2 separate regions of the Homo sapiens genome follow, and region 1 is linked to region 2. The links are contacts of gene promoters, found by promoter capture Hi-C in blood cells and fetal thymus (Javierre and others, 2016). All regions are on one chromosome and are shown on one strand. The core of a region is centred on a gene start or on the middle of the fragment in contact, and the rest is flanking DNA. Distances in the headings are between cores, read along the strand shown.

Evidence for each region. The method cuts DNA at HindIII sites, captures the fragments that hold promoters and counts their contacts. A CHiCAGO score of 5 or more calls a contact.
Region 1: a fragment that was not itself captured here is called in contact with the fragment with the promoter of HTR2A-AS1 in region 2 in 2 of 17 cell types (non-activated CD4 T cells and total CD8 T cells); the score reaches 6.5 in non-activated CD4 T cells.

Annotation. Positions count from the first base shown.
Region 1 is chr13:46,479,577-46,485,592 of GRCh38, reverse strand. No RefSeq gene overlaps it. Among named protein-coding and RNA genes, the nearest start is that of LINC01198, 16 kb to the right of the region's middle. The HindIII fragment of the contact is 198 bases long and covers 3,726-3,923 here.
Region 2 is chr13:46,849,467-46,855,231 of GRCh38, reverse strand. HTR2A-AS1 (HTR2A antisense RNA 1) reads right to left here and starts at 3,092. Exons shown (of 2, transcript NR_103752.1): 1 at 3,006-3,092. All of the region lies in intron 3 of HTR2A (5-hydroxytryptamine receptor 2A), which reads left to right. The HindIII fragment of the contact is 4,589 bases long and covers 2,664-5,765 here.

The DNA.
Region 1 (6,016 bases), core at 2,575-5,074, 370 kb after region 2:
ATTAAGAGTTTTTAATTTTTAATTTTTAAAAACTGGCACATAATAATTGTACATATTTGGGGAGTACATAGTGATGTTGCAATACATATAACATATGGTGATCTGATCAGGGTAATTAGCATATTCATCATCTTGAACATCATTTCTTTGTGTCGTGAGCACTCAATATCCTTCTACTAGCTATTTGAAACTATATATTATTGCTAAGTAGAGTCATTCTACAGTGCGATGAAACATTAGAACTTATTCCTCCTAGCTAGCTGAGCTGATTCAGGTTGTGAGCCAGCATCCCCACACAGCCCCAGTATACTCCTTGGGTGTTCTGCAAGTCCATCTGGGCCAGAAAGCGATGTCAACCTCAGAGTCCTTGTGAGATCCTCTGCAAGCCTGGATTTAGAGCACCCTCCAGTGCTGAGATGGCTTCAGTGGTCACAGGCTGAAGGAACTCAGCAGTCAGCTTAGAATTTTAGGAAAGCCCTCAGCAGAAGGACAGCCACAAACAAAGCCAGACTGCAAAGACTAAAATAAATACCTAATCCCTCAAAGCACAGACGTTGTCACGCATCCACAAAAAACAAGAACATTTAGGGAAATATGACCTCACCAAATGGACAAAATAAAGTTGCCAGTGACCAACCCTAAAGTGATGGAGATGTGTGATGAGGTAAATAATTCAAAATAGCTGTTTTAAGGAAGCTCAATAAACTTCAAGCAAACACAGAGTCAATTCAGAAATTTATCAGACAAATTTAACAGAGATTGAAATACTTAAAAAAATTAAACATAAACCTTAGAACTGAAAAATACAATGAATGAAATGAAAAATGCAATAGAGAGCATCAACAGCAGAACTGATCAAACAGAATAAAGAATCAGATCAAAGAGACCGTTATAAAATATGCAGGAGAAAAACGAAAATGAATGAAAAGGAAGGAAGCTAGCTCATGGAATCTTCGGGACAACATCAAAAGAACAAATATTTGGGTTATTGGTGTTAAAGAAGGAACTGAGAAAGACAAAGGAGTCAAAATCTTATTCAAAGAAATGATAACGGAAAACTTTTTTTTTTTTGAGATGGAGTCTTGCTCTGTCACCCAGGTTGCAACCTTTGCCTCCCGGGTTCGAGCAATTCTCCCTGCTTCAGCCTCCAGAGTAGCTGGGATTACAGGTGCCTGCCACCACACCTGGCTACTTTTTGTATGTTTTAGTAGAAATGGGGTTTTGCCATGTTGGCCAGGCTGGTCTTGAGCTTCTGACCTCAGATGATCTTCCCACCTTGGCCTCTCAAAGTGCTGGGATTACAGGCATGAGCCACTGTACCTGGCCTGATAACAGAAAACTTTCTAAACCTGGAGAAAGTTATAAATAGAAACCCATAAATCCACACACAGCCAACTCATTTTTGACAAAGGTGTCAAGAACATACACTGGGGAAAGGACAGTCTCTTTAATAAATGATGCTGGGAAAATTCAATATCCATAAGCAAAAGAGTGAAGCAAGATCCCCATCTTTCATCATATACAAAAATCAACCTAAATGAATTAAAGACTTCTGAATGTGGAAAAAAATAATTAATGTGCTTTTTCCTATTTTCTCACTCAATAATACAACAACAATCAATACAGGAGTCTTCCGTGACCCCAAAATATGTGGGGATTTCTCCCCGCCAGGAAGCAAGCAATTAATTCTGCAGTGAACACCAGCTGAGTGTTCTCCAATTTAATTCCGACACTATCTACCTAGTGATAATGTCAGATCCCACAGGTTGAGGGCTCATTCCCCAAGACAACCTCCAGCCTTCAGACACCAGTAGCAGGTTCAGGACTCTGAAAATTCTAACTGACCAGCTTCAAGTTGGAGTTCCCATGACCCTGTCTTTGGATTTGACTAATTTACTAGAGTGGCTCACATATCTCAGCCATACACCTACTTATGTTTACCAGTTTATTACAAAGGATATTTTAAAGAATACAAATAAATAGCCAGATGAAGAGATGCATAGGACAAGGTCTGAAAAGGTCTGGAGTGCAGGAGCTTCTGATCCATGGAGTTGAGGTGTGCCATCCTTACAGCACATGAATGAATTCTTGTTTACCTTCCTGTCAGCCTCCATGTGTTCAGCTCTCTGGAAGGCCCCCAAACCCAGTCCTCTTGAGCCTTTTATGGAGACTTTGTTGGATAGGCATGATTGAAACATGGACATCCATGTCAAAATGTGATTGGACAAAACAGGTATGATTCAATACTAATAGACTGATTGGGGAAACCCAGAAAGGCCTGTCTGTTCACGTCGTTCTGTCCTCTCTGTGCAGCACTTTTTTCCTTTAGGGTATGGGGCAGGACACTCTCGCAAATGAGGCTCTTAGGGCCCACAACCAGACTAGGGTCCTGCCTTGGGCAGGTCAAAGGAGGACAGGAGAATGTTAGAGAGAGAGAGAGAGAGATTCTGTTTTCCAATTCCTACTTCCAATGCCTGGCCTACAGTGCCCCAACATTATAACAAAATTCTGTCCGTGGAAGTTATGAGATAGGAATTGTGGATAAAAACCTACAAACACACACACACACACACACACACACACAATCACACACACATAGAGGCTGGCAGCCATAGGAAGCAGCTGTGAGAGTCTTTGTTTCTGTTCCTGAGTCCATTTAACCTTAAGGGTGGCTCTAGTTCTGTCCCCATTCTAAAAGCATTTCATTATCTCCCAATTATAAAGGACTTTTTTCCTCCCAAAGCTGTTTGCTGGTACAAGGAAACAGAATAATATACACTATATGTATGTATGTATTTAAGATAGGATCTCACTGTATCATCCAGACCAGAGTGCAGTGGCACAATCACAGCTCACTGCAGCCTCGACCTTCCAGACTCGGGTGATCCTTCCACCTTAGCCTTCCAAGCAGTTGGGACTACAGGCACATGCCACCATGCCCTGGTGATGAATATCTCAGTTACCCTATTTGATAATTACACATTGTACATATTTGTACACATTACAAATTATCACATGTACCCCAAAAATATGTACAACTGATATGAATCAGTTTTTAAAATACACTTTTGCTAAATAAATAAAATAGCAATGGAAACTTGAAGAGGAAGATGAGGTCTCAGAGGATGTGCTGTCTGAATTAATTCCAGAGGTCTCTGTAAATGAATTGTGCACCAGCTGATTGAAATATGAGGCTGGTGCTCAGGAGAAAGGTAAGGTCTTGATAAGCAAGCAGGGATGTGGTCTGCATAGGGAAGAGAAATAAGGAAGTGGATGTCAATATTAAAGAGAAACTATGGAACAACAAAAGAAGCAAGAATGACTGAACGTTGAAGAAGCCTCTGCATGTAAAGAGCCAGAAACGGAGAGAGAAACAGCGTAATGTGAGATCTAGAAAGAGCAGCTGTGGGAGAAAGACTGTGATGCTGAAATATCTGAAGAAGGTGTGACTGAGTCTTGAACCTTGACAGACAATAGGGTTGCCTAGGAGAAGGGTATGGGATGAGTAGATTTCATGGACTTCAAAAGAGCAGGAAGATAAGGAGGTGTTGATGGCATCTACCTCTTCTTCCCCTTGGTTCCTAACCTTCTCCCATGCCTTTCCTGCCCCTCTCTGACCCAATTGCTCTATCCGGCCAATGTATGGACATGGCAGCAGCAGGAATAAGTAGACAGATGTTAGGAGAATGGATGCAGGTTCTCTCTAGCCCATGGAAGCATAAGCTTTAATTACCCTGTCTCTGACTCAACTCTTCTCATGCTTATCAGTAGCGTAGCTGAGATCATTGAACATTCTCTGTTACAGTGCCTATTTTATCTAGAGCCAGCCTTCATAAACAAGTTGGCAGCTATCTATTAGAGATGGAATTTCCAGTAACCCTCCTTGACTGTTAGCCGATGTCTGCCATTCCACTATCAAAGCTTCATTTTGTTGGTCTAAAGCTTTGTTTCCTTTTGGGTTCCAGATTCCACTGGGAGAACACACACATGCATCTGCTATCAGTACATAATTTTGTTACAGAATTTATTATCATGGTTCTTTACTTTGTTGTCCATCTCCTTGACTAGCCCATGCATTAATCTGAAGCCATAAGCTGTGTTTTATTTACTTCCGAGCCCCCAGTCCTTAGCATGGCCCCTGAGTGTGTTGGAGCCAGCATGCACTGGCTTGCCAGGGTGGACCGTGCTCATCTCTTTCCAATTCTGTGATATCATGTTGATGGCTTGACATCAACGTGATCAGTTGCAGTGGGAGTATTTGCATCACAGATCTTGGCAAGTACAGCCTTTTTCAGGCCTTTTTCCTCTGGAGGTTCATCTACGACCACACTGCTGCATGTTCTTTTAAACTTAAGCAACTTATTTTTCCTAACTATTGAACTTCTGGGACTATAGTAGGTTTCAAAGTGATACTACTGTGTATTAGTCTGTTCTCACACTGCTAATAAAGACATACCCGAGACTGGGTAATTTATAAAGAAAAGAGATTTAATGGGCTCACAGTTCCACATGGCTGGGGAGGCCTCACAATCATGGCGGGAGGCAAAGGAGGAGTAAAGTCACATCTTGCATGGTGACAGGCACGAAGGCATGTGCAGGGAACTCCCCTTTATAAAACCATCAGATATTGTGAGACTTACTCAATATCACGAGAACAGCACAGGAAAGACTCACCCCCATGATTCAATTATCTCCCACCAGTTTCCTCCCATGACACGTGGGAATTGTGGAAGCTACAATTCAGGATGAGATTTGGGTGGGGACACAGCCAAACCATATCATACTGTAAAATAATAATAATGGGTTCTTAAATTTCCTTAATGCTTTACAGCTTCCTCCTTTGACCTCTCAACAAAGCTGTGAGGTAGGCCAGGAAGACTGTCGAGCCATCTGGGTTAGTGGTGAGCTTGCCAGGGATGTGATCAAGGAACTCTGCAGGGTGGCATGGAGGGAGAAATAGGGAGGATTTTCTCCCTGTGTCTCATGGAGTAGTCCTGTTCATGAACTTGGAATCATCCTCTTTGCCCCTTTTCTGAACTGCTTTTAGCTTTTGAAGACTAAGGACCAGAACTAGCTGCAGTATTGGGCTAAGCAGCCATCCCCAGGATGCAGACGTAAATAGCCAAGGGCTACTTTTAAATATGTAGAAGAGCAGTTTGTGAGGTAAGCTGTGAGAGACCACCAGCCTTATCTTGCTTGATTCTGTGGCTTTTTGTAGTCAGTATCCTAGAGGATCTTATCGGGTGAATCTAAAAGTAAGACTGCTGACAAAGAGAGTATGTTTCAAACTTAGCCTGGAGGCTGAAGAGCTTTTCCCCATCCTGCCCGTCTCTGTCTCCAAAGAGCCTCAGGATAATTGGAATATGGTAGCATGCTAAGCCAAGATGAGAGAATCCAGTAGCATTCCCCAGCAAGGAGGATGTTTTGATGTGTTTTAAGCATAACGTTGTACATCATGGCGAAAGCTCTAAACCGGAGATCTGAGGCTTCTTTGGAGAAAAAGCAATTAGCTTAGGAAATGTAATCATGTCTTAAGTGGAGAATATTCTGGCTCTGTGGCCTGGCTCTGACTTCTGACATGTTCCTAGGACCAAGCCCCAGGTTTGCTCTACTGGAATCATGTTCTCTGGTGGGTTCTGCCAAGCCTGGACCCTGCTTTGATAACAGGTCAGGTATCTCAGCCGCTGGGCCAGGAATGCCACAGTAGTTTCAGTCTTCCCAGGTGGCTGGATTCCTGGCCCTGGGCTGTGTTGAACAGCTACATCCTAATTGCAGGCCTCATCTCTGCTTCTTTTCTGCACTTGGAACTCTCTTCAGGCTGCCCATAACATCTCATCTAATGCTCTTCCTGCTTGCTCCTTCTCCAGAAAAACACTTATCATTCTTGAGTACTGCCCCCTCCCCAAGCCATTCTATATTTTTCTTGATAGTACTATGTGAAACTACCCTTTTAGTTGTCCAATTACTTATTTACCATCTGTCTCTCCTGCTTCTTTGCTAATTACTAGAATATAGA
Region 2 (5,765 bases), core at 1,843-4,342:
TAGGGCTACTGTAACAAAGAACCTCAAACTTATTGGCTTAAACTGACAGATTTCTTGTGTCACAGTTCCGGAGGTCAGAATTCTGGGAATCAAGGTATTGGCAGGATTGGTTCCTTCTGACCTGTGAAGGAGAGGCTGTTCCATGGCCTCTTCTTAGCTCTGGGGGGACATTAGTCAATTTGGTGTTCCCTGACTTATAGTTCCGTCTCCCAATCTCTGCCTTCATCTTCACATAATGTTATCTCAGCGTACACATGTCCACGTCCAAATTTTTTCTCTTTTTATAAGTTCAGTCGTAGTGGATTAGGGCCCACCCTAATGACCTTACTTAACCTTAACTTGATCATCTACAAAAGAATCTATTTCCAAATAAGATCACATTCACAGCTACTGGGGATCATTTGAGGGGACACAGTTCCACCATAACAGGGTGGGTAGGGATCTGTGATTTCCTGGCCAAAGGCATTATTCTGTTGCTGTTTGGAATGCTATCAAAATATTAATTATGGTATCACATCTCTGTGCCTAGGAGTCTCTGCTGACTTCTGTTATTGGTCGTGTAAGATCTTACAACCCCAGGGCAACTTTCAGCCTCAAAAGAACTGATGTCAGAGCCAGGGCTGGGGATAATGATATTTTGTTCTGATATAGGCTCAAAGTCACTATTTGAAGTCCTGGCTATAAAAATTAGTTCCAGCAGCTTTCACCTAAAGCTGGCCCAAGTCTGAAATGAACCAAATTGCATGAGCTCTATTATGTGCCCCTCTTGTAATATAAAAATCTAATAAAAGTAAATAGCAAAGTCTAATAGATAATCCTAACAGAGGAGCAAGCACTAAGGTGTGGTAGCTGAGGAACACCTAAGCTTGTGCTATTTGTAATGCTGCTTATTAGATACATCGCTGATCCTCCTGTCAACTCCAGTTAATGTTTCTGTCCCATTCAAGTTGAAAATGTTCAAATTCAGCTAATGTCTATGGCATCTCCTGAAAGCCCATCACTGCTGGGCACTTTTCCATTTTATTGCATTTAATCGTCACAACTCAGAGAGGAAACTTGTTTTGTTAGCTAAGAATCAAATCCTAGACTTGACACTAAGTCCACTGTGCTGGTCCCCCTGCTATTTGATAATATTCCAAAGCAAAATACCCATGCTACCGATGACTGGGACCCCCCAGCTCAGTCACTTGGGCTAGTTTTTCCTGTAGTCTTTCAGGATTGGAAGTAGAGTGGAGTTGTCAGGTCCTGTTACAAAAGTAGACTAACTGGAACTGTAGACTTTTTTCTTTAAACCTAACAGAAGGAAAAGATTGGTGAATCAAAAACTAGCATAAAAACTGCAAAAAACCTCTGGGAAAATAGACGGTCATGAAGTCCATATATGGGAAAGAAATGTAGCCCAGAAATTTCTAGGCATATGAAAAGCACAACTGTAAAACTAAGATGTTTTAGATGGAGGAGAGCTGAGAGTGACAGCTGAGAGTCGTAGATGCTGCCTTGGAAGAGTGTCCACGCTACCCTGGACAGGGGCCTGCCTGCCCACCCAGTGACCATGGCAGGGCAGAGAAAAAGCAATGTCAGCCCAGTATCTTCTCCAGCCAGTGGGGTGGCTTCAGGAGAGGGCTGGGACTGGGGATCTCAACCTTAGCAGCACATTAGAATCATCTGGGGAGGTTTAAAACAGCCTGATACACTTGGCCTCACCTGGAATGCACAAAATCAGAATCTCTATGGATTCAATTCACTATCAGTATTTAAGGCTGCCAGGTGATTCCAGTGTGCTGCCAACAACCACTGAGAGCACACAGCAAGGGAAGAGAGCAACCTGCTGGCTTCTGAGCTCTTTCTCCTCCCAGCCCAAGGGTTAGGGGATTGGGAGTCAGAGAAGTGGCCCAGGCAGATGAGTATGGAGGTGTCCAGCAAGATGTGGACAGATGGAGGATCTGGGAGCCCACATTTCAATGCTAGAGGCCATCTGCCCTAAGGTCCACCTTCCCCTTCTTCCTAATCAAGATCACCAGGAGGCGCACAGGCTGTAACCCCTTCTCCTGGTGTACGATATTAATCACGGCATCTTATATCCCCTGAAGGGGATATAAAGTCACAAGAAAAAATTTCTAGGCATATGAGAAGCACAAACTCTATAAGATACTGACAACAAGCAGACCAACTTTTACCTAACAATTCAGAATAATGCACTATATTAAGGAGAAAAAGAAAAATCAGATAAGAATTACCAGGAACTTTATAGGAAAAAAAAAAGCCCTAGAACTATTATAGGACAGACAAGACCTAAGTAGATAAAAATATAACATGTTCAAATTATTGAGATAACTTACCTTTGTTAACTGTAGAACTAAGGTGTTCATTTTCCACCAGATTATCTACAGTTTCAACAGTTTTAATCCAAAAGTTAAAATTTTTTGAGGAGCATGACTAAGTGATTTTAAAATGTTTATGGGAAAACAAAAGTTCATTACACCCATAGCTTGTATGTGGACAGGCCAAGGAAAGAAATCAGGGCTTCTGTCTCCCAGTCTGGTGCTAATTTCACCCCACCTGTCTACAGCCGTGAACTGCATTTTAACAGCACATAAAGAAATATACTGCATGCAATGCCGCTCCTCATATCATAGAACAATTATCTTAATCATAGGAAAGCTTAGAAGTTAACACATCAGTCTGAATGGCATCATAGCTCATCGTTTGTCCCTTTGACAAAGAACTTTTGTAGCGAATGCCACTCCAAACACACAGGGGCTAAGGCAAGGCTGTTACCGCAGTGGGAAGAGGGTAGCACTCTGTGTAAGCAGACGTGGCCAGCCCAGCCGAGAGAGCCCCCCTTTGCTGACTACCTCCAAGAACGTGGACACCTACAGTGCCGCCCAAGCGCCAGAGCGAGTCCCGGCAATGTGTGCCAGCTCCTTAGTGCTGCTGTAGCAATGACTACAAACTGAAATGACACCTCTGCTGTTGGCTTAAAACAACACAAATTTATTACTTACAGTTTTGGAAGTGAAAAGTCCAAAGTTGGTCTCACCAGGCCAAAACCAAGGTGTCAGTAGGGCTGCGTTCTTTCTGGAGGCACTAGGGAAAAAATATGTCACTGGCCCCTCCAGCTTCTAGAAACCACCTACACTCCTTGGCCCACGGTCCTTTTCCTGTTATCTTCCAAGGTAGCCAGTACAGATTGAATCCTGCTCTTATTGAATCACTTTGACCCAACACACCTTCCTCCCTCTTCCACTTTTAAGGAAATCTGTGATTACATTGGGCCCACCTGGATAATCCAGGGCACTCTAATTATTTCCAGCTCAGCTGATTGACATCTTTAATTCCCATCTGCAACTTTAGTTTATCCTTGCCATATAACACAACATATTCACAGCATCCAGGAGTTAGGCGTAGGCATCTTTGGGGACCATTATTCTGCTGATTACAAAATGCATCAGATTCAAACATTTAGCAGGCTAGAGCTAACACCTTCCTTATTACTATCACAAAATGTAGAAAAGCGGTGAATATATCATCGGGAAGTTTGCAGCTTATTTGGCTGGATCCACAACTGCCTTTCATGCCCAGAATGTTGCTAAAAGGAGAGTCTCTCTCCCAGTTACTCTACATCCATCCTGCCCTTGTAAAGCCACCTGGAAAACTGAAGCAATTTTTCAGAAATCCCTGTTTCCATTATATAAATATTCCGTGCGAAAGTGTTCTTTTGGTCTGACTTATTCTAATAAATGCTCCCATTTAACATGCATATGTGTAATCCAGCAAATTAACTTCTCCACAGGATATTAAAGTTAGTGTGTTTTGTGCTGTATGTATCTGTGCATGTACTATGTTTGAACCAGAATATACAATGTATCAAGGAGCTCATTCTTTATCTTTTTCCTGCATTTTCTTATAAACTATTTGGCTGATTAGATTTTTACTGTGACTTTTGTTTCTTATGTCTTTTAAAATTAGAAATTACTGCCATATTCTCTAGAAAAGTACTATCCAGAAGAAATAGAACTATGAAGATATGAAACTGGTTTTACTAGGAAACACACATATACACAGACACATACACACAAGACATAGTGTTTGTACACCCAGGCTCAGTGATTCAGAATCTTTTTTGTGTTGCAGAGTATTGGGATAATTACCTCTTTCCTGAAAAATGTACGTAGTCACATGAACATGAACTTTTGCACTCCTTTTCAAAGGGTTTCTGCCCCATCCTCACCCCCACCCCAGAAATCATCTATAGGTTAATTTGGAGGAAAAACATTCAACATCAGCACAGGTACGGGACACCAATTAGCTGGGAACCATGGAAAGAAAATAAGCATTGTAAGAAATAGCAGAGAAAATTGTAATTTCAAAAAATGTTGATCTTGGCATTGTGCATTAAAGACTTGCAGTAAAACATAACTGGTCCTTAGCATTAAGTTCTTAAAAGATGGTTTCTATAGCCAGTCTTCCCATAGATAGCATGTAAATGGCTCTAAATGAGAAACGTATAGCCCCTGCAACACAAGCACAGATAAAAGGAGGCCTGTCCCCACAGAAAGATTTCATAGGTAGGACACTGCATGAATTCCAGGCTCCGGATCTAAGAGCCAGCCTTGAGCAGCAATGAAGCAGCAACTCTTCAAGCAGCAACTTTTCTGAAGTGAGGAAGTTTGATCCCCAAGCCTGCATACCTGATGGCGAAAGTGTGCTGAGGCTACAGAGCATAGAAAAATACAGACTACAGAGCCAGGCTGTGGCTCAAAATTCTAGTTTCAGCACTTACTGTGTGACATTTGGCAACTTGCCTAACTTCTCTGTGCTTCCACTTTCTCATCAGCAAACAGTGATAATAATAGCACAAACTCATAGGGTGACTGTGAGGAGTAAGTGAGCTCATCTGTATAAAGCACTTAGGATAGTGCCTGGAGCACAGTAAGCACCATGTAAGTATTTGATTGTGTTATTTTTTATCATTATTATTTACTACCACCACCATGACATAGTCCTCCCTGATGCACTGTTAGCATGTAAAGATGGATGATTATTATTAACTAGGATATTAGAGAAAGGGCTCTGTCTAGGGAAAGTCCTCAAATTAACTAGCTTTACCTTCAACTTCTATAAAGCCCTACTTTGTCAGAATTGTTAGCCCCCAAATGATCTATATTTGGGCAATTTCTTGCCCTTGCCAAGATAACTAAGGTAATAAGGAAGTCTACTAGGTAGTCATAATTGTTCTCTCCTCTTCTTTTTATGTTGTATGTGTTCCCAAAGGCCTCTGCATTTGCTTCTTCATTTATTCCAGAAATCTTTATTTCATGCTTAATATTTAAATACTATGTGCCATGCACTGTCTTAGGAAAAGTATCTGCTTTTATGGAGCTCACATTCACGTAAACAGAGAGATGACAAGCAAATAAATAGACCAAACAAGATAATCTCATACAGTGGCAACTGCTAAAGGAAAAAAACAAATCAGAGAAATCCGCTACAGAGTGACTCAGGCAGGGTGAGGAAGGCTGACTGGGGAGAGGGCATTTACATGGACACCAAATAAGAAGAAGCCAGCCATGGTAATATCAGTAGAGAGTGGCGTGTTCCTGGCAGTGGGAACAGCAAGTCCCAAGGCCCTGATGAAGTAACCAGCTTACGGGGTTGAAGGAGCAGAAAGCAGCCAGTCCAGCTCAAGTGTAGTAAGAAAGGAAGGGAGTGAGAAGAGAGGGGGAAGGAGAGGTCAGCAGAGCCACATCTCTGAGGGCCTGCAG